Regions from separate parts of the Homo sapiens genome. Here regions 1, 2, 4, 5 and 6 are each linked to region 3. The links are contacts of gene promoters, found by promoter capture Hi-C in blood cells and fetal thymus (Javierre and others, 2016). All regions are on one chromosome and are shown on one strand. Each heading gives the region's core, a stretch centred on a gene start or on the middle of the fragment in contact. The rest is flanking DNA. Distances are from core to core; before and after follow the strand shown. Region 1 holds the start of KLF16 (KLF transcription factor 16). Region 2 overlaps GNG7 (G protein subunit gamma 7). Region 3 holds the start of PLEKHJ1 (pleckstrin homology domain containing J1). Region 4 has its middle 8.2 kb from the start of CSNK1G2. Region 5 overlaps GNG7 (G protein subunit gamma 7). Region 6 holds the start of ABHD17A (abhydrolase domain containing 17A, depalmitoylase).

Region 1 (2,783 bases), core at 114-2,613, 370 kb before region 3:
AGGGGACGGAGTGAAAAAATACAGCCAGGCCCACCAGGCTCCCGGTTCCCCTCGCCGCCCCGGGGACTGCGCTAGGAGGGGCGTTGGTGTAGCCGAAGCGCTCCAACTACGCGCACCTTCCCGAATCGCCCGCCAGGTAGGGGTGAACAAACACGCCAGGGAAATACAGCAGTGTGGACCCGAGCCCCTCGAGGGTCCTCCAATACTATGAAGTTCCCCCGCCCAGACTCAGGCCCCAACCCGCGCTCCTAGCCTCGCCCTCCCCCTCGTTAAAATACAGAGAACGCAGAGAAAACGTGCCGGGCTCCCCCCATCCTGGCCCCACGCCAGGTGCTCTGCCGACCTCTGGGGAGAATCCGCGCGGCCACCCCGGCGGCGGCGACGCGGTTCCTCCTCCATTTTCACAGATAAGGAAACTGAGGCTGGGGGAGGGGGAGAACCCAGAACCCCAGAGCCGGATGCTCCAACCACGGTGCCCACCGCCCAGACCAGAACGCAAAAGAAAAAAAAAAAAACGGAACAAGGCCCAGAAAGGGAGAGAGGTGGTCTGCCCAGGAGTCTCAATCCCGCCCGCAGACCTCGCTGGGCCCCCGGAGCCCCCGCCACTGCCGCCGGGGCGGCCATCCGCTCGCCGCCCGACCGCGTGGCCGCCACGCCCCCCGCGCGCGCCCCACCCACCGAGGCCCCGCCCTGCCGGCCGGCGCGGCGGCGGCCCGGGCGCGCCCCCCTCCCCGCCCCCCACGCGCCACGCAGTTTCGGGGTCCTGGCGGGGGAGGGGTCTCAGGCGGCCGCCCCCGCAAGGGCCGGGATCGCGGCTGCACTCACCTGTGTGCGTCCGCAGGTGCGACTTTAGGTGCGAGGACTTGTAGTAGGCTTTGGCGCAGTCCGGGAAGGGACAGCGGTGGCTCTTGGCGGCGGCGGAGGGCGCGGCGCCGGGGGCGCGGCCCGAGGACGGGGACGAGGCGGCTGAGGAGGAGGAGGCGGGCGAGGCGCCCCCCGGGGCGGCTCCGGGTCCGCCGCGCAGGTCGGCCAGGATGCTGGCGGCCAGCAGGTGGGGCGCCGCGGCGGCGCCGGGGCCCGGGCCAGAAGCGGCGGGGGGCGGCGGGGGTGGCCCCGGGGTCCCGGGTGAGGCGGCCTCGCGGCGCGCCGCGCGCACATCCAGGCCGGCGGCGGGGCCCGCGCCCTCGGGGCCGGGCCGCCCGCGGTGCACCACGGCGCCCGAAGAGATGGCCATGAGCACGTCGGCGGCGAAGTAATCCACGCACGCCACGGCCGCCGACATGCCGAGCAAGGGCGCGCGGCGCGGCGGGCGGAGCGGAGGCGGCGGGAGCGGCGTCCGTCCGGCCGGCGGCGGCTGCTCGAGTGCGGGAGGCGGAGGAGGAGGAGGAGGAGGCCCGGCGCGCGCCGCCGCCGACGCCCGCGCTCGGCCTGCCCCGCCCCGCCTGACGCGTCCTGACGCACCGGAGCCCGCGGGGGCGGCCACAGCCCGCCCCGCCCGGAGGACGCCCCCTCGGGGCGCCGCAGCCACGCCCCCCGCCCGGCGCGCCCTCCACCACTCTCCGAGCCGCGCGCGGCCGCCGGGGGCGGGGCTCGGGCCGGAGGAACCCGCCCCCCGGCGCGCCCACTCCGGCCTCCGCCAGCGCCTAGCGTCTTAGGCCCGGAGCGCGCCTTCTCCGCGCTAGGGTGCAAGGCCGGGAGCCCCGCCCCCTCCCGGCGCGCCCCACTCCAGCGCGCGCCCCCGTACCCTTTCCCGGAGCACCACCCCCTCAAGCCGGGGCGGGAGGCCGAGGACCCCGCCCCCTCTCCGGCACGCCCCTCCTTCCGAGAGCGCGCCCCGCCCCATCCCGGCACGCCCCTCCCTCCCAGAGCGCGCCCCGCCTCCTCGCTGGCGCGCCCACCCCACGCCGGGGCGCGCGGCCGGCGGGAGCCCGCCCCCTCCCCGGATGCTTCCCTCCTGGCCCCGGGCGCGCCCCCGTTCGCGATGGAGGAGGGCTCCGATCCCCACGTGGCCGGGGTTGGAGGGGTGCGGAAGCGGCCGGCCCCGCCCCCAGGCCACGTGCGCGACCCTTCCCCCCTCTTCTCCCGGCCTGGGGCCCTGCTTTGACCCCGCACTCAGGCATCTGCTCGTCCTCTTCTCTGGGGTTCCCCCTCGCCGCTCACAGAGCCCCTCGGAGCCTCCCGGCCGAGACACCCGGTATCCCGCGCCCGCGGCGGGGCCCGGGAGGGTGGGGCAAGGCTGCGTTCGTTCCTCTTTTTGCACCCAGTTCCGGAGCTACTAGAGCGCGCCCCACTGGGGGTGGGGAGGGCCGGTTGGGTCCCAGAGGGTCGGGATAGGGGGACGGGAAGAGGGGGCCGAACGCAAAGGGCTGGGCTGGGCTGGGGGCGCCTGAGCGGGTCAGAGGTTCCCCGCCCTGCTGGGACACCGGGGTCCGGGGCTTCTCTTTCCATTCCCAGGCATCGATTCTTGGGGTTCGGACGGGAAAACTGAGGCCAGGTATTCGGGCCTCCCGGCCGCGAGGACGTCCAGGCCAACTTGTTAAATATTAGGGGGGACACCAGGGACGCGGATGGCCCAGTTCGCAGGCCCAAGGCGGCGGGGGCACAGAAACTGGGCGGCCCCCCTCGGTCGCGACCGCGCTCCCGCCCCTTCCCAGCTCCGGCGGGGCGGCGGGGACTGCGCAGTGGCCGGAGCTGCCTCCAGGGGGCGGAGCTGCTTTGGCCTGCGGCGACCTCCTGCTCTGGGTTGGGCATGGACAGAGGCCCTGACCCGATTCGGGGCTTCT
Region 2 (2,861 bases), core at 280-2,779, 370 kb after region 3:
CCTGCTCAAGTCCTCAAAGCTGAAAAGTACGGCTGAAGGAGAATAAAAAAGAGAAACATAAAGCAGTTGTGGTGGTGTGTGCCTGTGCTCCCAGCTACTTGGGAGGCTGAAGTGGTAGGATCGCTTGAGCCCGGGAGTTTGAGGCTGCAGTGAGCTAGGATCACGCCACTACACTCCAGCCTGGGTGACAAGGAGAGACCTCCCCCCCGCCACCATCTCCAAAAACAAATTATTACTTATGTAAAAAATAGAACTAAGGAAGGTTTGCTTGACTCCAAAGCTGTGTTCTTTGCATCCATTCTAGTTCCATCCAGATGGCCCGGGGTACAGCTGGGATGCCTGTTGTCCCTAAAAACCATGGGGCACAAGTAGGTAAACCCTAGAGTAGGTAACTCCTCAATTCAGCTCAACCACTATCTGACCAGCCTCCAGTTACCAGGCAGTGTGTTTCCCCAGCCATGTGGACTCAGTCCTGCCACGGCGCGGCTCGTGCCTATTGCAGATACATGTACATGCTTGCAATATACGTGTCTGTCTCCCCTGCTCTACAATGAGCTCCCCAGGAACAAGGACTGGGCAATTTTTTTTGGCTTCCTGTCTCCACTGTTTGGCAGCAGGAAAAGAGAGGTGCCTGAAGAAAGGGTAACAGAGCAATGCAATCCCCCGATGTCAGATTTTTATTGAGGAAAAGAAAGGCAGTGAAGGCCGGGCATGGTGGCTCACGTCTGTAATCCCAAGCACGTTGGGAGGCCGGGGCAGGAGGATCCCTTGAGCCCAGGAGTTCGAGACCAGCCTGAGCAACATGGCGAGACCCTGTCTTTATAAAAAAATTAGCCGGGCATGGTGGTGTGAGCCTGTAGTCCCAGCTACTAGGGAGGTTGAAGCGGGAGGCTCACTTAAGGAGGCTGAGGTTGCAGTGAGTTATGATTTCATCACTGCACTTCAGCCTGGGCCACAGAGTAAGACCCTGTCTCAGAAAGAAGAAAAGAGAAGACAGGGGAGGGGAGGGGAGGAGAGGAGAGGGGAGGAGAGCAGTGGAATCCCAGATGATCCTTCCAGAATCTGCAAGCAGCACTGTGGAGGCACCCTGGGGAAGAAAGTCTGCTAGGATCTGGAGAAGCACTAGAAGCCGGGCACAGTGGCTCACGCCTGTAATCCCAGCACTCTGGGAGGCCGAGATGGGCAGGTCACCTGAGGTCAGGAGTTCGAGACCAGCCTGGCCAACATGGTGAAACCCCGTCTCTACTAAAAATGCAAAAATTAGCCGGGCGTGGTGGTGCACGCCTGTAATCTCAGCTACTTGGGAGGCTGAGACAGGAGGATTGCTTGAACCCGGGAGGCAGAGGTTGCAGTGAGCTGAGATCGCGCCACTGCACTCCAGCCTGGGCGACAGAGCGAGACTCCGTCTCAAAACAACAACAGAAAAAGCAGCACTGAGGACTGGGCTGCGGGCTGCGTCCTCTGCAGGCCCTGGCTCCCCTGTACCCACCCCCTCCTGCACGCTTTTAAGCAGATCCAGCACTCCCTTCAGGGCGCTGGGGAGGAGCTGCCAGCAGACAGGAATGCGCTGTGCAGAAGCAGCAGGTTCTGCCAGCTCCTCCCGAGCCTGCAGGGAAATGCAGGCAGATCTGTGGCCTCGCACAGGCGGACAGACGGGCAGCAGGGATCTCCAACCGGGCCCCGGAGCACGAACCACTACGCAATCGTCACAGCATGTGCTACCTTCCGTGGTGTTCTGGGAATCTAAATCAATCCCATACGCTGGACAGCAAGCCAGAAACGGAAGCCAATCTCGGGCTGGGCAGAGGGCCACCCGGCCCTCCCCTCACCACCACCCCTCCCTTTTCCTTCAATCAGAATTGCCTTTTATAGGCAGGTTGATAGTTCACAGCTGGAAGGGGGCTCACTGCGGCTCTGCAAGGAAAGATGCGCTACCCACCCTTTTCTCTCTTTCTCTTTCTTTTTCTCTTTTTCTTTCTTTCTTTCTTTCTTTCTTTTTGTTTCTTCCTTTCTTCCTTTCTTTCTTTTCTTTCTCTTTCTTTCTTTCTCTCTCTCTTTCCTTCCTTCCTTTCTTTTCTTTCTCCCTTTCCTTTCCCCTTCCTTCCTTCCCTTTCTTTCTTTCTTTTTCTCTTTTCTGTTCTGTTCTGTTCTTTTTTTTGATGGAGTTTCGCTCTTGTTGCCCAGGCTGGAGCACAATAGCACAGTCTTGCCTCACTGAAACCTCCGCCTCCCGGGTTCAAGCGATCCTCCTGCCTCAGCCTCCCGAGTAGCTGGGATTACAGGTGCGCACCACCATGCCTGGCTAATTTTTGTATTTTTAGTAGAGACGGGGTTTCACCGTGTTAGCCAGGGTGATCTCGATCTCCTGACCTCGTGATCCACCCGCCTCGGCCTCCCAAAGTGCTAGGATTACAGGCGTGAGCCGCCGTGCCCGGCCTAAAGCTGTGTTCTTTCTGTTCCACAGGCTGCAGAGAGGGAGCTGATGCCAGAATGAGGGGGAACCCCCGGAGCTTCTCGCATCGGGTGGGACCGGCATCCGGTGAGACCGCGGTGGCTCTCTGGGGCTGAAAATTCCAAGCAGAGTAGCCCGAGGAATCCAGCCATCCCCGAGGGTTCAGAAATGCAAATCAGGGCTGTGTATTCACAGCCTGGACTGGAGATCGACCAAAAACTATGCAGGGCTCACCCTTGCGGGGCGGCGGCTAAATTTAGGAAACCAACCATCTGGAGAATGCAGGCATCAGAAGCCCCTGCAGCTAGGAGGATCATTTCAGTTCATTTTTATTCACTGTTCATAGATCTCCCAGTTTTTCCTAGCGTGTTCAAGCTGGAAAGGATTTCAGAGATTGTGTCACCTAGAT
Region 3 (2,760 bases), core at 164-2,663:
CTTGAACCCGAGAGGGGGAAGTTACAGGGAGCCGAGATTGCACCACTGCACTCCAGCCTGGGCGACATACCAAGACCCTGTCTCAAAAAATAAGCAAATAAAATAATAAAGTGAAGTAAAAAGGGGTTGTCAGGGTGGGCCCTAAATTCTGCTTGGCGTCTGTGTAGAAGGGGAAATGTGGGCACAGACGTGATGCAAGGAGGACAAGGTGACGCTTCCACAAGCCAAGGAACCTGGAGGATACTGGCCACCACTAGGAACTGGGAGATTCCCCTCGGCCTCAGAAGGATTCGGCCCCACCCACACCTTCATCTAGGATTTCTGGCCTCCAGAACTGTAGAGAATGTTTCTGATATTTAAGCCACCTGGCCTGTGGAATTTTGACAGCCACTCTGGGCAAACTAGCAGGGACTCCATCTTTCCCCGCAGAAGGGAATCTCTTAAGACCCAGGAGAACACCCCCCTCTCACTCCTCCTACCCCCACCTGGGATTTCCAGCCCGGGGCCATATAACAATGCTAGACCCATGCTACTCTTGGCAGCTGGGGAAACGCTTTGGGTGGGGCTGGCCCACCTGCCCTGTAAGTACAGCCTGGGCCCACAGGGAACAAAGAGCAGAGTCTGGGAGGGACCCAAGCTTAAGTGGACTCGGCAGGTGGGAAGGGTGGTGCCCGCCAGGAGAACTTGACCTTGAGCTGCCCGTGGACAATGCACTCTTGTGTTTGAGGAGGGTGGCGCCAGGCTGGGGACACAGAGGAGACCTTGGGCGCCCGGGGAGGGGAAAGTGCGGCGCTGCGGGTGCCCCGGGCTGCGGGAAGCGCCGCTGGCTTCCCTAGCCCCACTCACTGATGGAGAAGGTGCCGGGCTCTTCCCGGACGACTCTGCAGCGCTCCAGCAGCAGGGCTCCGACGGGCTGGAGGAGACACGGGCGCCGGGACGGGGCAGTGAGCACCCGGCCTCCGAGGGGCCCAGCCTGGGACCCGCCCGCGCGCCCGGGACGCCCCTACCTCGGCCTCGTCTGTCCGAAAGTAGAAGAGGAAATTCACCACCAGCTTCACCAGCCGCCGCTTCAGCACTGCGGGCACAGCGCGCACTCAGGGGCGCAGGCAGCCCCCGCCCGGACCCCGGCCTCCCGTCCCCGGCGCCCCGACCCGGACTCCGGCCTCCGGCACCCCCGCCCAGACCCCGGCCCCGGCCTCCCGCCCCTGGCACTGTCTCGGTCTCCCGGGTCCCGCTCACCGCTGCCCTTCTTGGGGCCCCTCATGCCCAGCTCGGCCGCCATCTCGGCCGGCTGCCGGGACAGAGCCTGCAGCTCCTTCTCGTTGTACCGCATGGCTCCGCGGGGAACGGGAACCCGGGCCGCGCCCTCCCGGCCGCCGTCCCCGCTCAGGCTGGGGCCGGCGCCAAAAATGTCTCAGGGCGCAGACACGGAAGCACCCCCAGGGCTAGTGCGCCTGCGCACCTTGGGCCAGCCATGCCGCCCGCCTCCGCTGCGTGGCGCTGGCGACCCGTGGCTGCTGGCGTGGGCGGGGTACCGGTTGGTAGGAGAGACGGACCGTTGTTACATAACCATTAAACTGAAATAAACCGGACCAAGGTGGAACAGAATCAAGGCACCCCAGCGATGGCTGGCACCCCTTTCTAGAGCGGCCAGGCGCAGGCGGAGGGAGCGATAACGTCGCCCGGAGAGTGTCAGCCGCTCCCTCGCGAAAGTTGGCCCCGTGCGGCCGCAGCGGACCGAGGGTTCGTTGAGAGCGTTGTGCGCACGCGCAGTTTGCCTTCCAGGCCGCGCTTTCAGCCTCTCCCCCTCCAGCCTTTTCCTTCGCGCCTCGGGACCCTCTGACTCACGCCGCTGGGCGGGCCAGGCATGCGCACACCAGAGGGCCCGTCTCATTTGCCCCGGAAGTGCTTTCTTTGCCCGCCGTTCGCCAAACGAAGTCGTGGAGGTGGCGAAACGAGGAGGAGATAACGCGGCCTTGGGCTCTGGTGAGGAGTAGAGGCGGTTGAGGGCGGCGGCCGACGCGGACCGGGGGTTCCCTGGGGGACAGCGGACGTAGGAGAGAGGCGCTTGCGACAGGCCGCGGGCCGAGGGTGGGGCGGCGGCGTCGCTCCCCTCCCTCCTCCCGTGAGCGTCCGGCCTTGTGCATCCTGAGGCCCCGCGCTGGGCGGGCCTGGAGGGTCGGGCCCGCCAGGAACTCTATTTCCAAACTCCTGTTGGGAGGCCGCGCGCGGGGCCTCACGCCTGTAATCTCACTGCTCAGGGAGGCCTTGGCGGGAGGATCGCTTGAGGCCAGGAGTTCGAGACCAGCCTGGACAACACACCGAGACCCCCATCTCTACAAAAAATTTTAAAAAATTAGCCAGGAGTGGTGGTTGTACCTGTAGGCCCAGCTACTCGAGAGGATCGCTTGAGCTCGGAATGTCGAGGCTGCAGTGAGCCATGATCCCACCACTGCACTCCAGCCTGGGCAACATAGCGAGACCCCATCACTGCAAAAAAAAAAAAAAAAAAAATTAGCCGGGCGTGGTTGGTGACGCGCGCCTGTAGTCCCAGCTACTCTGGAGGCTGAAGCGGGAAGATCGCTTGAGTCCAGGAGGTCGAGGCTGCAGTGAGTTGTGATTGTGCCGTTGCACTCCAGCCTGGACAACAGAGCAAGACCCTGTTTGACAAAATAAAAAAGAAACAACCAAGATTCGTTGGGGTCGAATCGGGATCGCGGCTGAAATGGTTTCGGCCGCCTTCCTTGTAGCCGAGAACGC
Region 4 (2,983 bases), core at 9-2,508, 300 kb before region 3:
CTTCTTTTTTATTAAAAAAAATAATAATTTGTTTTTGCTTAATTTATTTCACCAGTCATATCACAAAGACATGTGTTGTTTTAGGCCACTGAGTTTGGTATAATTTGTTATGCAGCAGTAGCTGACTGATACAATAGGTGTTCCTGGATTATCTTCAGAAACCTGATAATAATATGTACACTAACTAGGGCTGTATCAGGGTGCATGGCAGGGTTTTTGAAGGCATTTTAAAGAGGTTTAGTTCCTGTCCTCAGGAGCTGCTGCCTAGTGGGGCAGACAGACCATGAATATCCATCATGGAAGGCAGAACACATAAGTACATGGACGAAAGCAGTTCCAGAGGCTGGTGGGTTGGATTCATTTGGCCTGATGTATCATGGAGTCCTCCCAAAAGAGGTGATCATCTGCCTGAGCTTTGCCAGACCTGTTGGGCTGAGAGAAGCCAGACAAGGCTCAGATGGGTGGAGGGTCAGGGTGGGTTGGAAAGGAACAAGTCAGTATGGGTGCAGAGGGCGTCCTGATGGATAGATGGGGCTGCGAAGTGGAACCAGCCATTGAGGCAGCCTCGAATGCTGTCCCCATTGTGGGGACTTTGAAAAGCCACCCTCCTTTGAAACACAGAAGGGGCAAGGAGTAAATTTATATTTCTTTTTTTCTTTTTTTTTGTTTTGAGACGGAGTCTCACTCTGTCACCCAGGCTGGAGTGCAGCGGCACCATCTTGGCTCACTGCAAGCTCTGCCTCCTGGGTTCACGCCATTCTCCTGCCTCAGCCTCCCAAGTACCTGAGACTACTGGCGCCCGCCACCATGCCTGGCTAATTTTTTGTATTTTTAGTAGAGACGGGGTTTCACCATGTTAGCCAGGATGGCCTCGATCTCCTGACCTCGTGATCTGCCTGCCTCAGCCTCCCAAAGTGCTGAGATTACAGGCATGAGCCACCGCGCCCGGCCAATTTATATTTCTGGTAAGGGGTGGGAAGAAGGAGCTTTCTCAGGCTGGAGGGGAGAGAAGACAGATGAGCACAGACACTCCTGGCAGCGGCATGAGGGCCGGGGAGCAGGTGCAGGGCACAGCGGGGCTCTGCAGGGCGGTTGTAGTTGGTGAGGACCACTGGAGCAGGGCCTTGAAGGGCGTCACCCCTCACCTGGCTGCCTCTGGGCCATCCTCCAGTCTGCCAGGGACTAGCAGAGGGGAGAAAGTGGGAGAGGAATCATTATTTGATGACCTCATTCAGCCCTAGGGATTTGGGGTGGCTAAGGTAGAATGGCAGTGGATTATATCTGACATGATGCGGGGTGTCCGGGCTCAGCTGGGCAGTTCTGCTCCCTGTGGTGATGGGGGGTAATCAGCAATCATTTAGTGGCTTTCCCTGGCCGGGAATGTTTGAGGTAGCTCACTCACAGGGCTGGCAGGTGGTGCCTGCTCAGTGGTGCCATCACCCAGGGGCTTCCAGGTGGCTGCCTCACAAGATGGCAGCTGGGTTCCAAGCAGAAAGGACGCTGTTGAGTTCTTTTTTTTTTTTTTTTTTTTTTGAGACACAGTCTCACTCTGTCACCCAGGCTGGAGTGTAATGGCGCAGTCTCGGCTCACTGCAACCTCCACCTCCCAGGTTCAAGTGATTCTACTGCCTCAGCTTCCCGAGTAGCTGGGATTACAGGTGCCCACCACCACGCCCAGCTAATTTTGTATTTTTAGTAGAGACAGGGTTTCACCGTGCTGGCTAGGCTGGTCTCAAACTCCTGACCTCGGGTGATCTGCCCGCCTCGGCCTCCCCAAGTGCTGGGATGACAGGTGTAAGCACCATGCCCAGCCTACTGTCGAGCTCGTAAGACCCTCCCTCAGAAGTCTCAAGGCACCACTTCCCCTGCCTTCTGTTGCTAAAACAGGTCACAGGAGCAGCTACATTCAGGGGAGGGGAAATGAACTGTGTCTTTCCGTGGGAGGAGCAGCAAAGAATCTGTGACCATCACACCCAGCTTTTGAACCACTTCTTCTTTGTGTCTCAGTGTTTGTGGCATGCAGCATCCCTGTTGCCTGGGTCCAGGATGCCACCCTCCTACTGGGGTTGCAGCACCAAGGGGCTGGGCATTCCATCGAGCTGAGGGGTGGGGGCTCTGGATGGGAGGCTCCCTGGGGGGAGCTCACATCTTCCATGAAGCATCATGGTCATTGTTGCCCTGTCCTGCACCCTGTCCACTGCAGGCTGCCCTCTGTGGCTGGCCTTGGTGACAAGAGATGTGGGAGAGACCCTGGTCACCACCATGGGAGGAGTCCCCAGGCACCAGGGGCAAATGAACAGAGTGAATGCCAGGAGGACCATTTAGGTGCAATATGACCAAAAATAAGTTAAGTCCAAGTGGGCTGCATCATCAACAAGAACATCCCCCAGCCTCCATGAAACAGCCCAAAACCTGGAGCAAGACGGTTCCCTGACGCTGAGCGATGCCATTCACAGCAGCGTTCCTGAATACCCCCCATGCAGGCACTCACATGCTCACACACACAATACACAAACCAACACACACCACACACAGGCATGCCAAACACAGGCACACAAATGCACACCCCCCCATAGACCCACCGACGAACACACACACACACACCCAGATGCACAGGTGCGCACACACACCCACGCACACAAAGACCCAGAGACAGACATGTGCACACACATACATATGCACACATGTACGCAGATACATATGACACAAATGCATGAACACATGGACCACACATACCAACATGCCACCTCACACAGACACACCTAACACACACACACCCGTGCACACATGTACATGGACATACACACTGGAAAACAACAAACACATATACAAAATGCAGGCCGGTTGCGGTGGCTCATGCCTGTAATCCCAACACTTTGGGAGGCCGAGGCAGGGGGATCACTTGAGCCTGGGAAGTGAGGGCTGCAGTGAGCTATGATTGAATCTCTGCACTCCAGCCTGGGTGACAGAGGGAGACCCTGTC
Region 5 (2,906 bases), core at 11-2,510, 400 kb after region 3:
GAAGGAAGGAGGGAGGGAGAGAGGGAAGGAGGGAGGGAGAAAGGAAGGAGGGAGTGAAGGAAGAAAGGAAGGAGGGAGAGAGGAAGGAGGGAAGGAAGGAGGGGGGAGGGAGGGAAGGAAGAAAGAAGAGAGGGAGGGAAGGAGGGAGGGGGAGGGAGGAAGGGAGGGAAGGAAGAAAGGAAGGAAGGAGGGAGGGAGAGAGGGAAGGAGGGAGGGAGGAAGGAAGGAGGGAGGGAAGGAGGGAGGGAGGGGAGGAGGGAGGGAGGAGGGAGGGAAGGAAGCGGCAGAGGGAGGGAGATAGAGATAGGAAGGAAGGAGAGAGAAGGGGGAGAGGGAGGAAGGCGAGAGAAAGAGAGAGGGAGAAGGAAAGAAAGAGAGAGGAAGGAAGGAGAGAGAGAGGAAGAGAGAAAGAAAGACATCAAGAAAAAGAGAGACATTCCAAAAGCCCAGCTAGGGGGACCAGTTAAACACATTATAAAATCATTTTTAAAGTGATAAGTCACCACCCCCTATCACACAGAGTGCCTTAACGAGCGTCAAGAATGAGGGTGGATGTCGAGGTTTCTCGACAAGGAAAGATGCCCAGTGATGGGAATGAGGAATGAGAGAATAGAACCCTCCTTGTGTGAAATCTACAGGTGAATGTAATTCACGAAAATCCCAGCACAGGCTTGGCAAGATGCTGAGGCCCATCGGTGCTGGGCTGGGGAACTTAGGGGCTTGGCCTTCTTTGTACTTTTCTTCATTTTACCTTTTTAGCTGTTGCTTTTTTTGGAGACAGGGTCTTGCCCTGTTGCCCAGGCTGGAGTGCAGTGGTGTGATCTCGGCTCACTGCACCACTCGATCTCCTAGGCTCAAGTGATCCTCCTGCCTCAGCCTCCAGTGTAGCTGGGACCACAGGTACACACTGTAACACCCAGCTAATTGTTTAATTTTTTTGTAGAGATGGGGTCTTGCTATGTTGCCCAGGCTAGTCTCACACTCCTGGGCTCAAGCCATCCTCCCGCCTTGGCCTCCCAAAGTGCTGCGATGACAGGCGTGAGCCACCACACCCAGGCTCTCACCAAGTTCTGACGTCAATCAGGGATCAAAGGGCTTCAGGCCAAACTGCCATCCCTAAAATGACCTGCTTGAGAAACTTAAGTCTATGAAATGAAGGGGAGGCACTCCAGAAACTGGCAGATGGTCCCCAGAGGTGGTACAAGAAGAAGGGACTCGGGTCCCGCAGCTGACCCTCAGTGGCTCTTAGCCTCGAGAACTCAGCCCTGCGATGGCCAGAGTTGCGCCCGGCAGATCCCCACGGGGAGCCTCTTCCTCTCTCCTTGAGGTCACAGGCAGGTGAGTGACCAGGCAAGGGAGGAAGTCGGCTCTGCTCACCCCTCCAGCCCATTCCCCATGTCAGCAGAAGGAACAGCAGGCTCCCAGCGACAGCCCCATCCTAACCCCAGAAGCCGTGGACAGGTCAGCTCCATGTCAAAAGGGACCGCAGATGGGATGAAGTTAAGGATCGTGAGATAGGATAGCATCCGGGGTGATCTGGGGGCCCCAATGTCCTCATAGCGTCCTCAGGAGAAGAGGCAGGAGGGTGAGAGTCAAACAGAGACTGGAAGAGGCTTCACTGTGGCTGTGAAGGGGGAGGAGGGGGCCCCGAGCCAAGGGATGTGGGTGCCTCTAGACGCTGGGAAATGCGGGAACCAGATTTTCCCCTGGAGCCCCAAGGAGGGACTGGCCTGCCCACACCTTGATTTTCCATGATTTTAGCCCAGTGAGGCCTATGTTAGACTTCTTTTTTTTTTATTTTTTCTTTTTTTGAGATGGAGTCTCACTCTGTCGCCCAGGCTGGAGTGCAGTGGCGTGATCTTGGCTCTGCAACCTCCGCCTCCCGGGCTCAAGCGATTTTCCTGCCTCAGCCTCCTGAGTGGCTGGGACTACAGATGCACACCACCACACCTGGCTGGTTTTTTTTGTATTTTTAGTAGAGATGGGGTTTCACCATGTTAGCCAGGATGGTCTCAAACTCCTGACCTCAGGTGATCCGCCCACCTCGACCTCCCAAAGTGCTGGGATTACAGGAGTGAGCCACCGCGCCTGGCCCTACGTTAGACTTCTGAGCTTCAGCGCTGTCAGATAATAACTGTGTGGGAGAAGCCGTTCTACATCAGTAGTCACTTGTTACGTCTGGGGCAGGAGGTGCCTACATCCACCAGTGCCCAAAGAGGATCTAGCAGCTCCGATCCAGGCCCTCGGGGCTTAGTGGGCAGCCCCACCAGCCCACAGCCTGCCTGCCAGGGAGCTGTTCTCACAGACCCCCACCATGGGACACGTGTTTCTGGGACAGGTCATGGAGAACGATGACCCCATCACGGGCAGTCTTTCCAAAAGGGCCCACGGGAGATCAGAAATCGCAATGTTTCTTGCTGAGAATTGCCGTATCCTAGCTTGCAAACACTATTAGCTCCGCAGCTGCTAGCGTTTCCCTGTCGAAATGAATGGGGTTATTTGTTTCTGTTTTTTAGACAGGGTCTGGCTCTGTTGCCCAGGTTGGAGTGCAGTGGTGCAATCATAGCCCACTGCAGCCTCGACCTCCGGGGCTCAAGCGATCCTCCCACCTCAGCCTCTTCAGTAGCTGGGATTTCAGGTGTGCACCACCACGCCTGGCTAATTTCTGTATTTTTTGTAGAGATGGGGTTTCACCATGTTGCCTGGGCTGGTCTCAAACTCTCAGGCTCAAACGATCCTCCCCACTTCAGCCCCCCACTAGCAGGGACTACAGGTGCGTGCCACCATACCTGTCTAATTTTCTGTAGAGTTTAGGATATCGCTCTGTTGACCAGGCTGATCTCAAACTCCTGGGCTCAAGCCATCCTCCTGCCTTGGCCTCTCAAAGTGCTGGGATTACAGGCGTG
Region 6 (3,062 bases), core at 165-2,664, 350 kb before region 3:
TCAGAGTCCTCAAAGCTGGGACAGGACCCCTTACACGCTCTTTCCACAGCTTGTATTTTTCACACGTTTGGCCAGATCTCCCCCCACCTCCAAACCAGAAACTCTATGAGAGCAGGACCATGACCTGCCACTCACTAAAGGAATGGGCAGGTGGTAGGCAGCACAGAATTAAGGAGGAAGCACAGGAGGAAAAGAATCCCCAAGGTCCGCCAGCTTTGACAGGGAAGGGAAAGTCTAGTCTCCTCTCCTCTCCAGCCACAGGTACCTGGAACCTCCCTAGTGTCACTAATGGGCGTGGACTGGGGAGTGCAAACCCAGACGCCTCACTCACTGGGCACACACCCTTGACACCCTGAATCCCACCAATTCCGTTCCCACGCACTTAACTGGGCAACCCTCTGCAAGCTAGAGGTGTTCTGAGGACCAGCAAGCAACCGAGCAGCCAAAATACTGGAAGATGACCTACATATGGGAGACGGTGACTGCACCTCACTCAACCAGTCAGGGTGGGAAACCCGCCTGGGGGGAGGCGCGGCCATATCAGAGGGCAGACAAACGGGCCAGGTGACAGGGGGATGGGACAGAGGGACAAGCAGGAGCAAAATCCGAGGTGACAGAGCAGGCTCCTGGCTAGAGCAGACCCTGGGAGGAAGAAGTGAGCAGAAGGGTCCTAAGAGAGAGCCTGGGACGGGTGAGGTCGCGCCCCCGAGAGTTTGCACTTCATCCTGGGAGAAATGGCGGGGCCGCGAAGAAGTCCCGAGCAAGCGATGGACAACATAGGAGAAGGGCTGCATCCCGGAGAACGGACGCGAGCGGAGGCCGGGAAGCCCGCCCAGGAGTCAGGGTGGCAGGAAGAAGCCTGACAAGGGAAACAGCGACTGGGAGCTGGTTGGGAAGCAGGGCTCGGGAGGGCCCCTGGGAGCTGCCTTGGGGGGCGAGAGGCCGAAGCGTTTGTCGGACTGGGGGCAGTTTCGGGGCAAAAGAGCGGAATCCGCGGCTCGGACGGGTGCTCCCCGAAGGCAAGGGCCGCGTCCGCAGGAGGGTGGGAGCGCAACCCACGCCGGAGGGCTGAATGGATGGGGACAGGGCTTTCCCAATCACAGACGCTCATCCGCGGTCCGCGCCCCTGCTCTGGGCTCCTCGGGCAGGACCCGCGGAAGCCCTGGGACTGCAGGGGTCTCGGGGACGTCCAACCGGGCTGTCAGGCCCTCGAGGCCCGGCCCGGGACCCCGCGCGGCCGCGCCCGCCCCCGCCCCTGCCCGGCACTCACCACCCCGGCCCGCGCCCCCGGGCCCCAGGGCCGCGCTCCATGGCTCCCGGCCGCCCGCCCGTGCGTCCGTCGGTCCCTCCGCACCCCTGCCCGGCCTCCTGCACCGCCACCGCCGCAGCTCCCCCCACGGACGGAAGTGAGCCTCGTTCTCACCACCGCCCCGGAAGTGACGCGAGGAGCGCGCGGGGCGGGGGTCTGCAGGCACAGAGCGACCGCGCGACTAGCGTCCTGGGGGCGGGGCTGATATGTCGAGGGGCGTGGCCTGCTGCTCTGTGGGCGGGGCCAAACTTAGGTTTCATTCACTTGGGGACCCGGAATAGGTTGAGGCCAGTAAAGTTCTCGCCTGGAAAACAAAATTTACAGGGACGCCAAAAAAAACTCAGACATCAACATTTAGAAATGTTTTAAAATATTTTTCTTTATGAGATGGAGTCGCGCTCTGTCGCCCAGGCTGGAGTACAATGGCGCGATCTCAGCTCACTGCAACTTCTGCCTCCTGGGATCAAGCGATTCTCCTGCCTCAGCCTCCTGAGTAGCTGGGATTACCGGCGCCCACCACCATGCCCAGCTAATTTTTGTGTTTTCAGTAGAGACGGGGTTTCCCCATGTTGGCCAGTGTGGCCTCGAACTCCTGACCCCAGAATCCTCCTGCCTCAGCCTCCCAAAGTGTTGGGATTACAGGCATCAGCCACCGCACCTGGCCTCTTTTTTTTAACATAGAGTCTACTCTGTCACCCAGGCTGGTGCCATCATAGCTCACTGCAGCCTCGACCTCCCAGGATCAAGTGAACCTCCTACTTCAGCCTCCTGAGTAGCTAGGACTATAGGCACAAGCCACCATGACCAGCTTATTTAAAGTCTTTATATATTGCTCATCAGAAATTCTTTTGCATTAGTTTTTAAAATATTACATTAGGCCGGGCACGGTGGCTCATGCCTGTAATCCCAGCACTTTGGGAGACTGAAACAGGTAGATCACCTGAAGTCAGGAGTTTGAGACCAAGCCTGACCAACGTGGTGAAACCCTGTCTCTACTAAAAATACAAATATTAGCCGGGCATGGTGGCACGCGCCTGTAGTCCCAGCTACTCCGGAGGCTGAGGCAGGAGAATCGCTTGAACCCGGGAGGCGAAGGTTGCAGTGAGCCAAGATCGGGCCACTGTGCTCCAGCCCAAGTGACAGAGCAAGAAGACTGTCTCAGATAAATAAATAAATAAATAAATAAATAAATAAATAAATAAATAAAACTATGATCACTCCACTGCATTCCAGCCTGGGCGAGAGAGCAAGATCCTGTCTCTTAAAAAAATTTCATTATGGGCTGGGCGCGGTGGCTCACGCCTATAATCCCAGCACTTTGGGAGGCCGAGTCGGGCAGATCATGAGGTTAGGAGATCAAGACCATCCTGGCTAACACGGTGAAACCTCATCTCTACTAAAAATACAAAAAGATAGCCGGGCGTGGTGGCGGGCGCCTGTAGTCCCAGCTACTCGGGAGGCTGAGGCAGGAGAACGGCGTGAACCCAGGAGGCAGAGCTTGCAGTGAGCTGAGACCGCGCCACTGCACTCCAGACTGGGCGACAGAGCGAGACTCCGTCTCAAAAAAAAAAAAAATTGCATTATGGCAGGGCCTAGTGGCTCACGCCTGTAATCTCAGCACTTTGGGAGAACGAGGCAGGCAGATCACCTGAAGTTAGGAGTTCAGCCTGGCCAACATGGTGAAATCCTGTCTCTACTAAAAATACAAAAATTAGGCCACCCTGGCCAACATGGTGAAACCCCATCTCTACTA

What was found. The method cuts DNA at HindIII sites, captures the fragments that hold promoters and counts their contacts. A CHiCAGO score of 5 or more calls a contact.
Region 1: the fragment with the promoter of KLF16 here is called in contact with the fragment with the promoter of PLEKHJ1 in region 3 in 1 of 17 cell types (monocytes); the score reaches 6.3 in monocytes.
Region 2: a contact is called between a fragment that was not itself captured here and the fragment with the promoter of PLEKHJ1 in region 3, in 1 of 17 cell types (total B cells). The highest score is 7.1, in total B cells.
Region 4: a fragment that was not itself captured here is called in contact with the fragment with the promoter of PLEKHJ1 in region 3 in 2 of 17 cell types (neutrophils and monocytes); the score reaches 5.9 in neutrophils.
Region 5: a fragment that was not itself captured here is called in contact with the fragment with the promoter of PLEKHJ1 in region 3 in 1 of 17 cell types (naive B cells); the score reaches 5.6 in naive B cells.
Region 6: the fragment with the promoter of ABHD17A here is called in contact with the fragment with the promoter of PLEKHJ1 in region 3 in 3 of 17 cell types (monocytes, neutrophils and fetal thymus); the score reaches 8.2 in monocytes.

Annotation. Positions count from the first base shown.
Region 1 is chr19:1,862,216-1,864,998 of GRCh38, forward strand. KLF16 (KLF transcription factor 16) reads right to left here and starts at 1,364. Exons shown (of 2, transcript NM_031918.4): 1 at 826-1,364. The coding sequence starts at 1,282. RefSeq lists silencers at 607-776, 827-1,006, 1,337-2,436, 2,507-2,726 and a promoter at 1,253-2,457. The HindIII fragment of the contact is 13,147 bases long and covers 1-2,783 here.
Region 2 is chr19:2,600,928-2,603,788 of GRCh38, forward strand. The region is part of intron 2 of GNG7 (G protein subunit gamma 7); the gene reads right to left. Among named protein-coding and RNA genes, the nearest start is that of MIR7850, 28 kb to the right of the region's middle. RefSeq lists an enhancer at 2,364-2,861. The HindIII fragment of the contact is 7,209 bases long and covers 1-2,861 here.
Region 3 is chr19:2,234,916-2,237,675 of GRCh38, forward strand. PLEKHJ1 (pleckstrin homology domain containing J1) reads right to left here and starts at 1,414. Exons shown (of 6, transcript NM_018049.3): 1 at 1,240-1,414; 2 at 1,008-1,075; 3 at 847-913. The coding sequence starts at 1,333. It overlaps SF3A2 (splicing factor 3a subunit 2), which reads left to right and starts at 1,909. Exons shown (of 9, transcript NM_007165.5): 1 at 1,909-1,986. It overlaps MIR6789 (microRNA 6789), which reads right to left and starts at 1,011; the gene lies at 914-1,011. RefSeq lists enhancers at 1-218, 221-829, 1,438-2,046, 1,625-1,674 and silencers at 855-1,484, 2,095-2,194. The HindIII fragment of the contact is 3,950 bases long and covers 636-2,760 here.
Region 4 is chr19:1,931,507-1,934,489 of GRCh38, forward strand. No RefSeq gene overlaps it. Among named protein-coding and RNA genes, the nearest start is that of CSNK1G2, 8.2 kb to the right of the region's middle. The HindIII fragment of the contact is 7,321 bases long and covers 1-2,983 here.
Region 5 is chr19:2,639,871-2,642,776 of GRCh38, forward strand. All of the region lies in intron 2 of GNG7 (G protein subunit gamma 7), which reads right to left. Among named protein-coding and RNA genes, the nearest start is that of MIR7850, 11 kb to the left of the region's middle. The HindIII fragment of the contact is 7,333 bases long and covers 1-2,906 here.
Region 6 is chr19:1,884,082-1,887,143 of GRCh38, forward strand. ABHD17A (abhydrolase domain containing 17A, depalmitoylase) reads right to left here and starts at 1,415. Exons shown (of 5, transcript NM_001130111.2): 1 at 1,271-1,415. RefSeq lists a silencer at 680-827 and an enhancer at 2,994-3,062. The HindIII fragment of the contact is 20,961 bases long and covers 1-3,062 here.